Linked DNA regions of Homo sapiens: region 1 is linked to region 2. Evidence: promoter capture Hi-C in human tissues and cell types (Jung and others, 2019). All regions are on one chromosome and are shown on one strand. Each heading gives the region's core, a stretch centred on a gene start or on the middle of the fragment in contact. The rest is flanking DNA. Distances are from core to core; before and after follow the strand shown. Region 1 overlaps FRMD4A (FERM domain containing 4A). Region 2 holds the start of MCM10 (minichromosome maintenance 10 replication initiation factor).

Region 1 (5,856 bases), core at 3,245-5,744, 1.0 Mb after region 2:
TTTGGGGAAGCAGTGAGTTGTGATCATGCCTTTGTACTCTCGTTTGGGTGACAGAGCAAGGCTCTGTCTCAAAGGAAAGAAGGAAAGAAGGAAGGAAGGAAAGAAGGAAGGGAGGGAGGGAGGGAGGGAGGGCGACACTCTTCCTTATAACAAGAAACAGCTTGCATTCTATAAAAGCAATGATGTGATTTCTTAAAGGCATTATGAGCCTAACTCCATGATATCAGATCATAGGATATTACAGTCAAATTGTGTATCAACTAGTCCATCATTTCACAGATAAGTAAATTGAGTCCCAGAGAGTTCGGTTACTTTCCTAAGATTACAGAAGTCCTCAACCTTGCTAATCTGATGTTCTTTCTTTTTCAACATACTGTTGGCTATATATGTCCTTTGTAAATAAAGGAACAGAGCCATTATCGTGGAATGACTGACTTAGAGAACGCTCCATGGACATTTGCTTCGACCTATATCCCATGCCTTTCTCCATTTACCCCCAAATTGACATAGAAAAAGATCAGCCAGATACAGTGGCTGGGAGGGCAACATAGTGAGACCCCGTCCCTACGAAAAATCAAAAAATAAGCTGAGCACCAGTGGCATGCGCCTGTGGTCCCAGCAACTTGGGAGGCTGGGGTGGGAGGATCGCCTGAGCCTGGGAGGTTAAGGCAGCAATGAGCAGAATGCTGTCACAGAGAAGGAACTCAATAAATACTTGGTAAAATATTTATTTTGGGGGTTAGAAGTAGACTTGGGAAATTTGGTTTTCTTTGATTCCATATTTCACTAGGGGGAAATAAAGATGTAAAACAGAGACATAAAACATGCCATTAGCTTTATGGGCCTTGGGACAGTGGGGTTCCCAGTTTTCCCGGGAGATGACGATGGAATGCATTCAGGCAGCTCCCACAATACAATTTTCCCATCTCTAGTGTCCTATTGGGAAGGTATCTCCACCTCCTTGTAGCCTCTCCATGCTGAATACACTTAAAACTCTAACCTCCTTTCCCCCAAAGGAGCTCCTTCCTTAGACTCTCCAGGTGCTGTCCTTGATGCTAATCTTTCTTCTGGTCAGCCTTTTGTTTTTCATGTAAAAATGACTTATTTCATTACTTACTGGACCTTTTCCACAAAATGCCTGGAATCAAATAAAAAATGACTGGATTCTCAAGTCAACCTTTCTGGACGCCTGCCTCTCCCCCTGTGCCAAGGACCCATGACCTGCTTGCTGCCTGGGCTCTTTGTGTGGTTTGGTTGCTTTTCTCAGACTTGAATGCTTCCCACTGAAATCCTACAATTGGGCACATAGCACTCCCTATTGAAAATGTATAATAGCTTCTCATTATACAAGCTCTTCACTTTGGCTTTTAGAATCATGTGCCGTCTCCTTTCCTATTTGCCTCCCGCCTGCCAAACTCATTATCCAATCATTCCCTCTTCAATCAGTCCCACCTTTCTACCTTTAGGTCCTTTTCCAGAATCCAAACTTTAATCAAAGAGATAAAGCAGGCCAAGACCCAATGTCCATTACTTAATAAGCCCTCAATAGACATTAGCTTTCTTCAAAGTCCTCATCAACTCCTTTCCTTGGCTGCGCACAGTAGCTCAGACTTTGAGAGGCTGAGGTGGAAGGCTCACTTAAGCCCAGGAGTTTGAGACAAACCTGGGCAACATAGTGAGACCCCGTCCCTACGAAAAATCAAAAAATTAGCTGAGCACCAGTGGCATGCGCCTGTGGTCCCAGTAACTTGGGAGGCTGGGGTGGGAGGATCGCCTGAGCCTGGGAGGTTAAGGCAGCAATGAGCGGTGATTGCAGCACTGACCTCCAGTCTGGGCAACGGAGCGAGGTTTTGTCTCAAAAACAAAACCAAACAAAATCCCGCCCAAAACAACTCCTTTCTGGGAAGCTTTCCCTGAGCAACCCAGCTCACCTCTGTTTGTCTTCACTGCCTGTTTGACATTTAGCTTAAGTTACCTTGTGCTGTTATCTTTTAACCCTGATCTGTATTTTAACCCTCAAGCACAAGGTCTCATGGCTGTGTATTTCCACCTCTGTGTATGGTGTCCTATAGACAGTGAGAGCTTAACATCTCGCGTCAGTGATGATGCTGCAGCATTGCTACGATGTCACCCTTAGCTCCAAACATGCCTACATCATTGGCAAACCTTTGAAATCCCAATAGCAAAATGCCAGAAATGCAAGAATTTGAGGTGGAAAAAGGGGTAAGAGGAGGAAGAGAATGGGCCCGGCGCGGTTGCTCACGCCTGTAATCCCAGCACTTTGGGAGGCAGAGGTGGGTGGATCACCTGAGGTCAGGAGTTCAAGACCAGCCTGACCAATATGATGAAACCTGGTCTCTACTAAAAATACAAAAAATAGTCAGGTGTGGTGGCGGGCACCTGTAATCCCAGCTACTCGGGAGGCTGAGACAGGAGAATTGCTAGAACCTGGGAGGCGGAGGTTGCAGTGAGCTGAGATTGCACCATTGCACTCCAGCCTGGGCAACAAGAGTGAAACTCCATTTCAAAAAAGAAAAAAGAGGAGGAAGATAATGAATATTTACAGACTGCCTTCTCTGTACCAAGTAACATTCTTTGTTCTTGTATAAATATCCTCTCCTATAAAGAAAAAAATAAACAAAAAGAGGGAATTGATTCAGTCAGGGTAACAGATGTTAGTGTCATCACTTAGGACTAGAGCCCATAAACTTCTGACTGCCACTGAAAAACAGCCAATGTCAAGGTGAGTTTAGACAGATCTTAACTCAGCCTGATGCTCATTAATGAGAACAATGGCAAAAGTGTTGGGAATTTGAGTCGGCCTCAGTAGGAAAATCCTTATAAATTTAATGAGAGCTCAGGAGAGATTTCTATCTATCTTAATTATGCTTGCAAACTTCATAGGGCGCTCTCTGACTCTAGGCTAAAACATGAAGCACCTTGATACCTCTAATACATAAGCCTAAGGCAGTAAATCAGGTTCTCCCCACACGTACACCACTTTCCAAAATATATTTGACAAAACTTGTCTAAATGTCTCATAGACACTACCCTTTGACTAAGAAAACGGTTTTGGTTATCACTCCCATTTTACAGACAGAAAAACTGTGGAACAGATTCTGATGCAACAGTATGCCCTCGCCCTAGCAGACGAGTTTGTTGCTCATCCTGAAGTGAAAACAGTAGTTTCTTCACAGCAAATGACCACCCCTCTCATGTTGGTAGTTCTACCATTTTCAAGACAACTGTATTACCAGAAAAAAGGGCTCACTGCTGGATGTGCTGGAAGCCGATACTATGACACCGGGTTTTCTGTTTGTTTGTTTTTTGTTCATTTTTTAGAGTCAGGGTCTTGCTCTGTTGCCCAGGCTGGAGTGCAGTGGTGCCATCATAGCTCACTGCAGCCTCAGTCTCCAAGGCTCTAGCGATCCTGCCTCCCGAGTAGCTGAGACCACCTCTGCCTCCCAAGTATTTGAGACCACAGGCACATGCTATCACACCTGGCTAATAAATTTTTTGTAGAGCTGGAGTTTTCTTGTGTTGCCCAGTCTGGCCTCAAATTCCTGGCCTCCAGCAATCCTTCCACCTTGGTCCCCCAAAGTGCTGGGATTACCGGCGTGAGCCCCGGCATCTGTCAACACTGGATTTTTGAGAAAAGAAAAGCTTTATATTGCAAGTCTACTCACAAGGAGACAGGAGTCAAGTTCAAATCTGTCTATCTGTGCTGGCTCCAAGGCAGTATTTTTTAATGGAAAAGTTTCAGGGGGTGGATTTGGGGATAAGCAGGTGACTGATGGAAGGAAGCAGGAAGTCTGGAAAGTCCTTGGGCATGCGCAGTTATCTATTCGTGATGCCTCCTGGGGCTTTGTGTGCAAATTTGGAGGAAGTTAGTGTGAAACATGGGTGGGAATTCAGGCTGTGAGGTCAGCAAGCTGGTTCCGTGCAGACCCCAGTCAGCCATATTGGTTCCAACCAACTTTAGCCAGTTCTTTTATCTCACAGGTGGAGAGAGTTTTAGTGTCGCAGTGAGAGGTTTCTTGTCTTATATGTTAACCTGCACACTCAAGAATTTTTGTTAGTTACTGGTTGTACTCTTGGGGGCATAGTCTCAGTTTCAGCTTTTCAGCAAGTTTTTGCTTTTCTTATGTGTGTTATCCTCTAAGCCCAAGAAGTTAGCCATTGGCTTCTTTAACTCTTTGGGGCATGGTTTCAGTTGGGAATCCCAAACAGAAAGGGTCTTCTGCTTTGAGAGAATTTTATCTAAATGGACACACAACTCATAAAACAACAGTCGTTGAGAGAAAGCAGAGGCTAATGGGGTCAAAGGTGAACAGCCAGTAGAAGTGCCAGCTCCTAAGAGAAAGGATATCAAGGGACAGCCATAGTTTACAAGACCCAGGACCAATCCCAATAAAAGTCCTGTCTCATGACCCCTGGTCTCTCTGTCACTAATTGAGAAATACAATCGACCGCTCCCCTCTGTTTATGCAGTGCATCCAGCATCATGTGACTACACAAGAGAACAAAAAGTAGTATCGGCTGTTGCTATGGAGACTTAAGAACCATGTGAATTGCTATGGCATCATAAAAGCGATATTCCAATCATCAGTCTTTAACTATAGGGCCGTTGAAATCTATCTCATATTTTTAGAATGTGTGACATTTAACACATTGATGAATATTTCCAGCCTCAGAATATATTCCCTGCTTTCATATTTAGATAGGAGTTTTCAGCTCAACTGGCTGTTTTTTTTTTTTCTCTCTCTCTCTCTCTCTCCTGGCAAATGCTTCATCTCCTCATGAGTGATTACAACTCTTTCTATACTTTCCTAGATGTTTCTTCATTCTTGCTTCCTGTTTTTTCTTTATTCTATAATTAAAATTATTTTCTCACTCACTGTCTCCACTTCCACCAGACCACTTTTTCACATCCCCGGTTGACATTTCAACCAGGCTTTAACCTCCACTGGTCTTAACTGACCACACTTTAAGCCAGAGTTGCTAATAATCAACAATTCTGAGCCCCAGCCAAAGGTGCACAGCTACCTCCTTGGTGGTTTTTATCCCTGAAAGTCACCATCCCCTTATCATCCAAGGGAATTCCAATTCACTGACTTTTCTAGGCTTTATATGAAATCATTCTTTTGGATGGAGAATAACATATCTAATTCTCCACTTTTTTCTTTGTAAGAATTGCTAACTGGGTTTTGTGTAGCTGTATACACAGACCATTTTGAATATCAGTGTGTATCCACACACACCTGTTTTGCTTATCTTATTTGGAAGATGTTGAAAGAGATTGATTAACTTGTTTAGAGTAACAGCTCTTATAACCTAATTAGCTTAGAAGCAAAAATGGGAAAGTGTAAATATCAGGAAATATACATTCACATAACAAAACTCTGCTAAAAGAAACCTGTTACAGTGGTGCACTGTTGTGAGATAAATTCCTCCACATTCCTTTTATTCTTGCAGCATCAGCCTCTCCAAATCTTCATGTGTATTAAGAACCTTCTTTTTTTAACCTCTTTCCTTAAGAGAGCTTCAGGATCTCTTGGACTTATGTATTTTCATCTCCTCCTTAAACCTCTCCAAAGAAGAGCCTTCTTGTTCCCTCCACAGTATTATACAATAAGCTCAAGTACATCAGTGAACATGGTATTACCAAGGTGTGATTTTATTCTGTGAGTTTCCAGGAATGAACATCTCCCCTCTAGGTTACTGAATTCTAAAACGTAATGAATTCCTTCAAAGAGTTTTTAAGCATTTTTGCATCAACTTTTTCTTCCAGGGGTCACAAAGGATGATTTATTTATTCACTGTTGCATTTCTAATCACACCAATAGGGTGCAGTTG
Region 2 (6,288 bases), core at 3,507-6,006:
ACAGAGGGGCTACAGTGCCAAACAGAGAGGTCCACCGCGTCGGTATACATACAGTGTAATATCACTTTTGCATATTTTTGTGGTATAATGGACTCATCTAATATAATTCTTGTGGGAGTCCTCAAAGTTCCATCTGTGATTTCTTCAACAGTTGGTATTCTCCTTTGTAATAAATTTTGAAAAAATGGGGACCGTGCAGAAATAACAGCCTTGTGGGCTTTGAGCTCTTCATCTAAACAGTTCTGATGTCCACCAAAAGCTTCAACCAGTTCAGAGTCTGAAGAAAAGCTAAGGACGACATCGTAATAACACATGTAATCAAAGAGTCCACGCATATCTACATCAAGGGAATTCTTCACTAAGCTGAACAAGGATAACGACATTTTGAAACCCTGAGTCTTCCATTCCAAACTCTCCTGTATAAAGATAGTATAACAAAGCAGAAAACATGGGCATATCAATACCAGCTGTATTGATGTCCATTATTATCTCTGCCCCATACTCAGGTGAGGAAGAAAGCATTTAAAAAATGGACACCTTGCTGCCAAAATGGCACGATGAACAGGATAACAAGTTTCTTGAAATATGAAATCTGTATCAGTACGATACTTGTACTCATAAAGATCAGCCATATCTTTCTGCAATGTCCGGGCTTCCGGTCTAGCCAAACTGGCTTGTAGGGAAAGCTTCTTTAATGCTGACCTTCCCTCATATTCCTCCGCTAATGCATTGACATCTCTAATATCCCACCCAGAGAGGAGTTCTCGCATCTGCTTGGCATGATCGGCAGACCTATCAGATTTTCGAGGCTTAATTAAGTTCTTTTTGAAGGTAGCAGGGCCAGAGGTCTTTTTTTTTTTTTTTTTTTTTTTTTTTTTTTGAGACAGTCTGGCTTTGTCGCCCAGGCTGGAGTGCAGTGGCTCGATCTCGGCTCACTGCAAGCTCTGCCTCCCAGGTTCCCGCCATTCTCCTGCCTCAGCCTCCCGAGTAGCTGGGACTACAGGCGCCCGCCACCACGCCCGGCTAATTTTTTGTATTTTTTAGTAGAGACAGGGTTTCACCATATTAGCCAGGATGGTCTCGATCTCCTGACGTCGTGATCCGCCCGTCTCGGCCTCCCAAAGTGCTGGGATTACAGGCGTGAGCCACCGTGCCCGGCCTCTTTTTTTTGTCTTGTGGTTTCTCATGGCCATGGTCAAGGCTATACAATTTTGATTCACAACCATAGCCTTGCTGAGAATAGGATGACGTCCCTATAAAAGTCTGTTGGGCCTGTGAATTTCCCCCTACCTTCGCGGAACATGGATGAGGATAATGAGATGCATTAGCACCCATTTTCTTCAGTCATTCAGGCATTCCGTCTGCGGGTTCTTCAGAGTATAATCCTAGAGGCCATTAGGAACCTTCAACCCTGGATCCAGCAGCCTCTTTCCATCTATTTCTATGAGAACAGGGCCATTAGACCTTACTTTAGTGCATACTATTGAAGTATGAAAGGCTGTGGGCAGCCAGACACACGGACAGTGCATTCTGTAAGAACCACACAGCAAGCATCCTCAAGTGTTTACTATACAGTCTGCCCTTCGTATTCCGTAGGTTCCTCATCCACAGTTCAATCGACCTGGAGGCTCCTCCCGCCGCCGCTGCTGCTGCTGCCGCAGGGACCTCGGCCGTCGCCCCCGCCGCCTCCGCCACCAGCACCGCGGCAGGCACCGGCGCCAGCACACCGCCGCCATCCTCCTCCCACCGCCGCCGCCGCCCTCTCCTCTCCTGTCAGTGGCTCAGGCTCCGGGACTGCTCCAGTTTTCCCTCGCCGCCATTTTGATTCCTAGAGGGAGCAGGAAGGGCTCGGCTTGGACTTTTTGTGTTTTTTTTTGTTTTTTGTTTTTTTGAGGCGGAGTTTTGCTCTTGTTGCCTAGGCTGGAGTGCAGTGGCCGATCTCGGCCCACTGCAACCTCCGTCTTCCGGGTTCAAGCGATTCTACTGCCTCAGCCTCCCGCGTAGCTGGGATTACAAGCATGCGCCAATACTTCCGGTTCATTTTTGCATTTTTTTTAGTAGAGATGAGGTTTCACCATGTTGGCCAGACTGGTCTCGAACTCCTGACCTCAGGTGATCTGCCAGCTTCGGCCTCCCAAAGTCCTGGGATTACAGACATGAGCCACCGTGCCCGGCCCACTTTTAATACATTAAAGGGGTCTGTGATAAACATCCTCCTACCGCCCAAAAAAGGTTAAGGACCACTGCAATATGGGCTGTTTGCTTTAGATTTCATTTTAGATAGATGTTGATAACTGTCAGAGCTGTTCTTTTTTGGCCTTCGTTTGTATTCTAAGGAGAGTCCAGGCCTCTCCTTAGAACCCCAGATCTGGAGATCAAGCTGGCTACCGTGCCTTTCTTAATCAGCATCTCTCATACATCTCATTCTGAAATAGAAAACTAAATCTATCTTCTCCCCTAAACCTGTTCCGTTCTTCCTATGTCTCCTACTTCAGTGCACAACCTCAAAAACGACCCTATTGTATAAATCAGAAACCTAACAGTCATCCTAAACCTGTCTCCCCATCCCCTCTCTGCTTCCTTCTCGCTAATATCTCCACATTCAATGGATGTTTTAAAAATATAAACTCAAGATTTTATTGTCTTCATAATAAAAGAAAACATGACACTTAGAACTGGATCACTTGGCCGTTTCTCTTCTTACCTCCTCCCAGTTCAAAATGCTAGCATATTTTAATAGCCAGCACTCTCTTAGAGCTGCAGCTGGGCTCAACGCACTCAAGCCTTGGCACAATTTTCTGTAGTTTTAGCCCTTTCCTGGAAAATCGGCTTAATTTGCCCACGATAGCCACTCTGCTTCCTGTCATAACGCCGCTTTCCCTGGGCATACAGAGAATCCTTCTCCTTCGTGTACAGTGTCACTTTGTGGGGTTGGTGCTTGCCACACTTCTTATAGAAAGTCTGGCGGGTTTTAGGAAACTTCGTAATGTTTGTGTGAGCGCTATCGGCACGGAAAAGCCACATTCAATGGATTTTAAAAAATCTATTTGCCTAATTGTTTCTCAAAATCACCTCCACTTCTTTTCTCAAAGTCACCACTATACTAATTCCAATAAAAAGTGCTTGATTCTTCACTTAAGGAAGGTTTGCGGGCTTAGGTTGGTTCTGTTTCTGACTCCTTGCCCGGAACTGGATGCAAAGAGGACCTGGAAAGTGAAGGTGAAGAAAAGAACTTCAGAGTACTGATCAGAATTAGTCAAGGAATTTCTGCATAATGGCTAAGAATAAATCTATGACGAATCTTTTTTTTTTAATAACTAGATGTAGTGATGCATTTATTTATTTATTTATTTATTTATTTATTTATTTATTTAGACAGAGTCTGGCTCTGTCGCCAGGCTGGAGTGCAGTGGCGAGATCTCGGCTCATCACTGCAATCGCCACCTCCCAGGTTCAAGCGATTCTCCGCCTCAGCCTCCCAAGTAGCTGGGATTACAGACGCGCACCACTACGCCCAGCTAATTTTTGTGTTGTGTGTGTTTTTAGTAGAGATGGGGTTTCACCATGTTGGCCAGGCTGGTCTCGAACTCCTAACCTCGTGATCCACCCACCTCGGCCTCCCAAAGTGCTGGGATTACAGGGGTGAGCCACCGTGCCCGGCCTTAGTGCCGTATGTTTAAAAGTACGCATTTAAACATACTTTTTCAATTTGATTACTAGAGTTCCTCCATTACTATGAATTTTTAACACTAGCAGCTCTCAGAAATGGTTGTATTCCTATTCCTGAGCCAATATAGGTTTAAGTAATAGGGCTGAGCTCATAAATGGAGCAGTAATATTCCATTAGGACACAGAAAAAAGTCAACGTAGATGGCATCAGGACTGTTTATCTTCAGTCTTCCTAAAGTCGATTTTAATTGTTCTGAAAATGAAAGTACGTAGTGGATAGAGATAGGATCTTATACCAAAGGGATTATTAGTGGGGGAACTGCAGTGCCTGAACAGTGTCTGCAAGGAGGAAAAGGGGGGAAAGACTTAAAGTGGCCATTTGGTCCATCAAAGTCTCTTCTGCTATCAATCCCTTGAAATTATGTAAAAGCTAAATGTTATTCTGCATTTAGAAACTATGTTCTTAGTATTATGTACAAACACTATTTTTTAGAATGTAAATACATAAAGAGGCCTGAATTTTACTGAAAAAAAAATCTGTGAAAGATATGGTCTGCTGATAAGTTCTCTTCAGCCCTGACGCCCCTTAGAAGTCCCAAAATCTATGGAACAGGAATTACTCGGGAAATGGTGGTTTCAGTGTAAAAGATGTCATCTACCCTTTCCCTCACTGCACAGATGGTGAAGGGGAAACTCAGAGAGATAAGTCACTTCCCCAAGGTCAGACAGGGTAAAAGTGGACCGGATCTGTTTGGTCCTGAGCCCAAACATTTCGAATGGACATAAGGCTGACAAAGGAACAGTCGGTCCCAGAGCGTCAGGAGTTGAGGTGGGATGGGACCGCAGGGAAAATACTGGGTGGGATGACTTAAACTTCCCGGCACCAGGGGGCGCCAGACACTCTATTTTACCTAAAGGAGACTGGCTTCTACCGACAGGAAGGTCCCTTGCCCCCAACAAAGAGGGCGTCCAATGACGTAAACCAATCCGATTGCTCTGTGCCAGGGCCGGGATTCGCTGGCGTAGCCAGTCAGTGCTGCCCCACAGCCGCGTGCGTCTGACGTCAAGGCAGGGGCGGGATCCGGTTGGAATTTTGGCGGGTTCAGCTGTGAACGAAGAAGGCGTCCCGGCATCGGGTGAGGAGCGCGGGCCCCGGGCGTGCGTGTGACCCTCGGGCGGCGGGGCCGGGGCCGCCTCGCACGTCTCTGCGCGGGTTGCAAGGGGTCCGAGGCTAGAGGCGCGGGGTCCCGGGAGCTCGGGTGGGCGCGATCTGGATTTGGCGGCAGCTTGGGACCGCTCGGAGCTGGCATGGCCGGGCCGGGGGCTGGGAGTTGCTGGCCGTCTACTAAGGAATCGGGTTCTTCCTTTTAAACGCAGCCTTTTAAGTGCTTGCCAAGTGCCTGCCGCCTGGGCTTTCTTTTATTCATTCATTCATTCATTCATTCATTGGTTTCTCGTATTCATGATTTGCCAATGATTATTGAATGCGGACGGTGTGCATGGCTCGGATCACATTTCCGCTGCCTTCACAGCGCTTACAGTTTAAAGGCACGAGCAGGTAGTAAACAAATGCACGACAGTGGACGACTCAGGGTGGTCCAGAAAGTCTCAGAAAGATGAGTAAGTGGAGACCGAAGGGCGAGAAGGACCTGGGGGGAGCTTTCTTCGACAGAGCCTGAGACCTCAAAGCAGCTTAGTGTGTTCCAGAAGGTGGAAGCGGGCTGGCCCGGCTGGAGCATCGTTATGGGTGTCGGGGTGGGTAGAATTGGACGTGGTGGATTGTGGAAAATGTGAGGGAGTAGAAAGCTTGGAAAGAGAGAGAGAATATGAATCATTGCCTCGCAGGCTTTGTAGATTTTTTCTAAGGGCAATGGAAAATCATTAAAGAATTTCAATGAAGGGACCCCCATGATCTGATTTATGTTCCTAAAGGTTACTAAGGAAAGGGAAGATTACCGTGGCTGTCGTATGCAGAACAGATTGCACGGGGACAAAGAGACCAACATAGAAAGCTAACACAGTCATTGGGTTAAAGGTTGACGGTGGCTTGGCCTAGGGTTCTGGCAGTGAAGTTGGAGAGAAGTGGCAGATTTGAGCAGTGTTTTGGAGATGGGACCACAGTACTTGTCAGTGGCCGTGGATTTGAGGGCGAGGGAGGGTGCACAGTTTCATTTTGGGGGAAGGCAAGGCCGGTTACAGACTTGAACGAGACAGTTTGCTCCTAACGCTCAGGAAGCTTACTGTCCAATAGGTTCCCCAGTAGATAGCACAGTGTGTGGCACATGAGGGATCCGTGGAAATGTTGGTTGAATGAATTTTTAAAAAGCGGCCAGGCGCGGTGGCTCACGCCTGTAATCCCAGCGCTTTGGGAGGCCAAGGCGGACGGATCACCAGGTCAGGAGATCGAGACCATCCTGGCTAATACGGTGAAACCCCATCTCTACTAAAAATACAAAAAATTAGCCGGGCGTGGTGGCGGGCGCCTGTAGTCCCAGCTACTCGGGAGGCTGAGGCAGGAGAATGGCGTGAACCCGGGAGGCGGAGCTTGCAGTGAGCCAAGATCGCCCCATTGCACTCCAGCCTGGGTGACAGAGACTCCGTCTCAAAAAAAAAAAAAAG

What was found. The method cuts DNA at HindIII sites, captures the fragments that hold promoters and counts their contacts. A contact is called where the count stands out against the background at its distance.
Region 1: a contact is called between a fragment that was not itself captured here and the fragment with the promoter of MCM10 in region 2, in 1 of the 25 tissues and cell types used here (thymus).

The regions. Positions count from the first base shown.
Region 1 is chr10:14,187,049-14,192,904 of GRCh38, forward strand. The region is part of intron 2 of FRMD4A (FERM domain containing 4A); the gene reads right to left. Among named protein-coding and RNA genes, the nearest start is that of FRMD4A-AS3, 120 kb to the left of the region's middle. The HindIII fragment of the contact is 7,611 bases long and covers 690-5,856 here.
Region 2 is chr10:13,156,802-13,163,089 of GRCh38, forward strand. It overlaps MCM10 (minichromosome maintenance 10 replication initiation factor), which reads left to right and starts at 4,757. Exons shown (of 20, transcript NM_018518.5): 1 at 4,757-4,805. It also overlaps the pseudogene BTBD7P1 and the pseudogene RPL36AP36. RefSeq lists silencers at 4,506-4,819, 4,842-5,021. The HindIII fragment of the contact is 5,218 bases long and covers 473-5,690 here.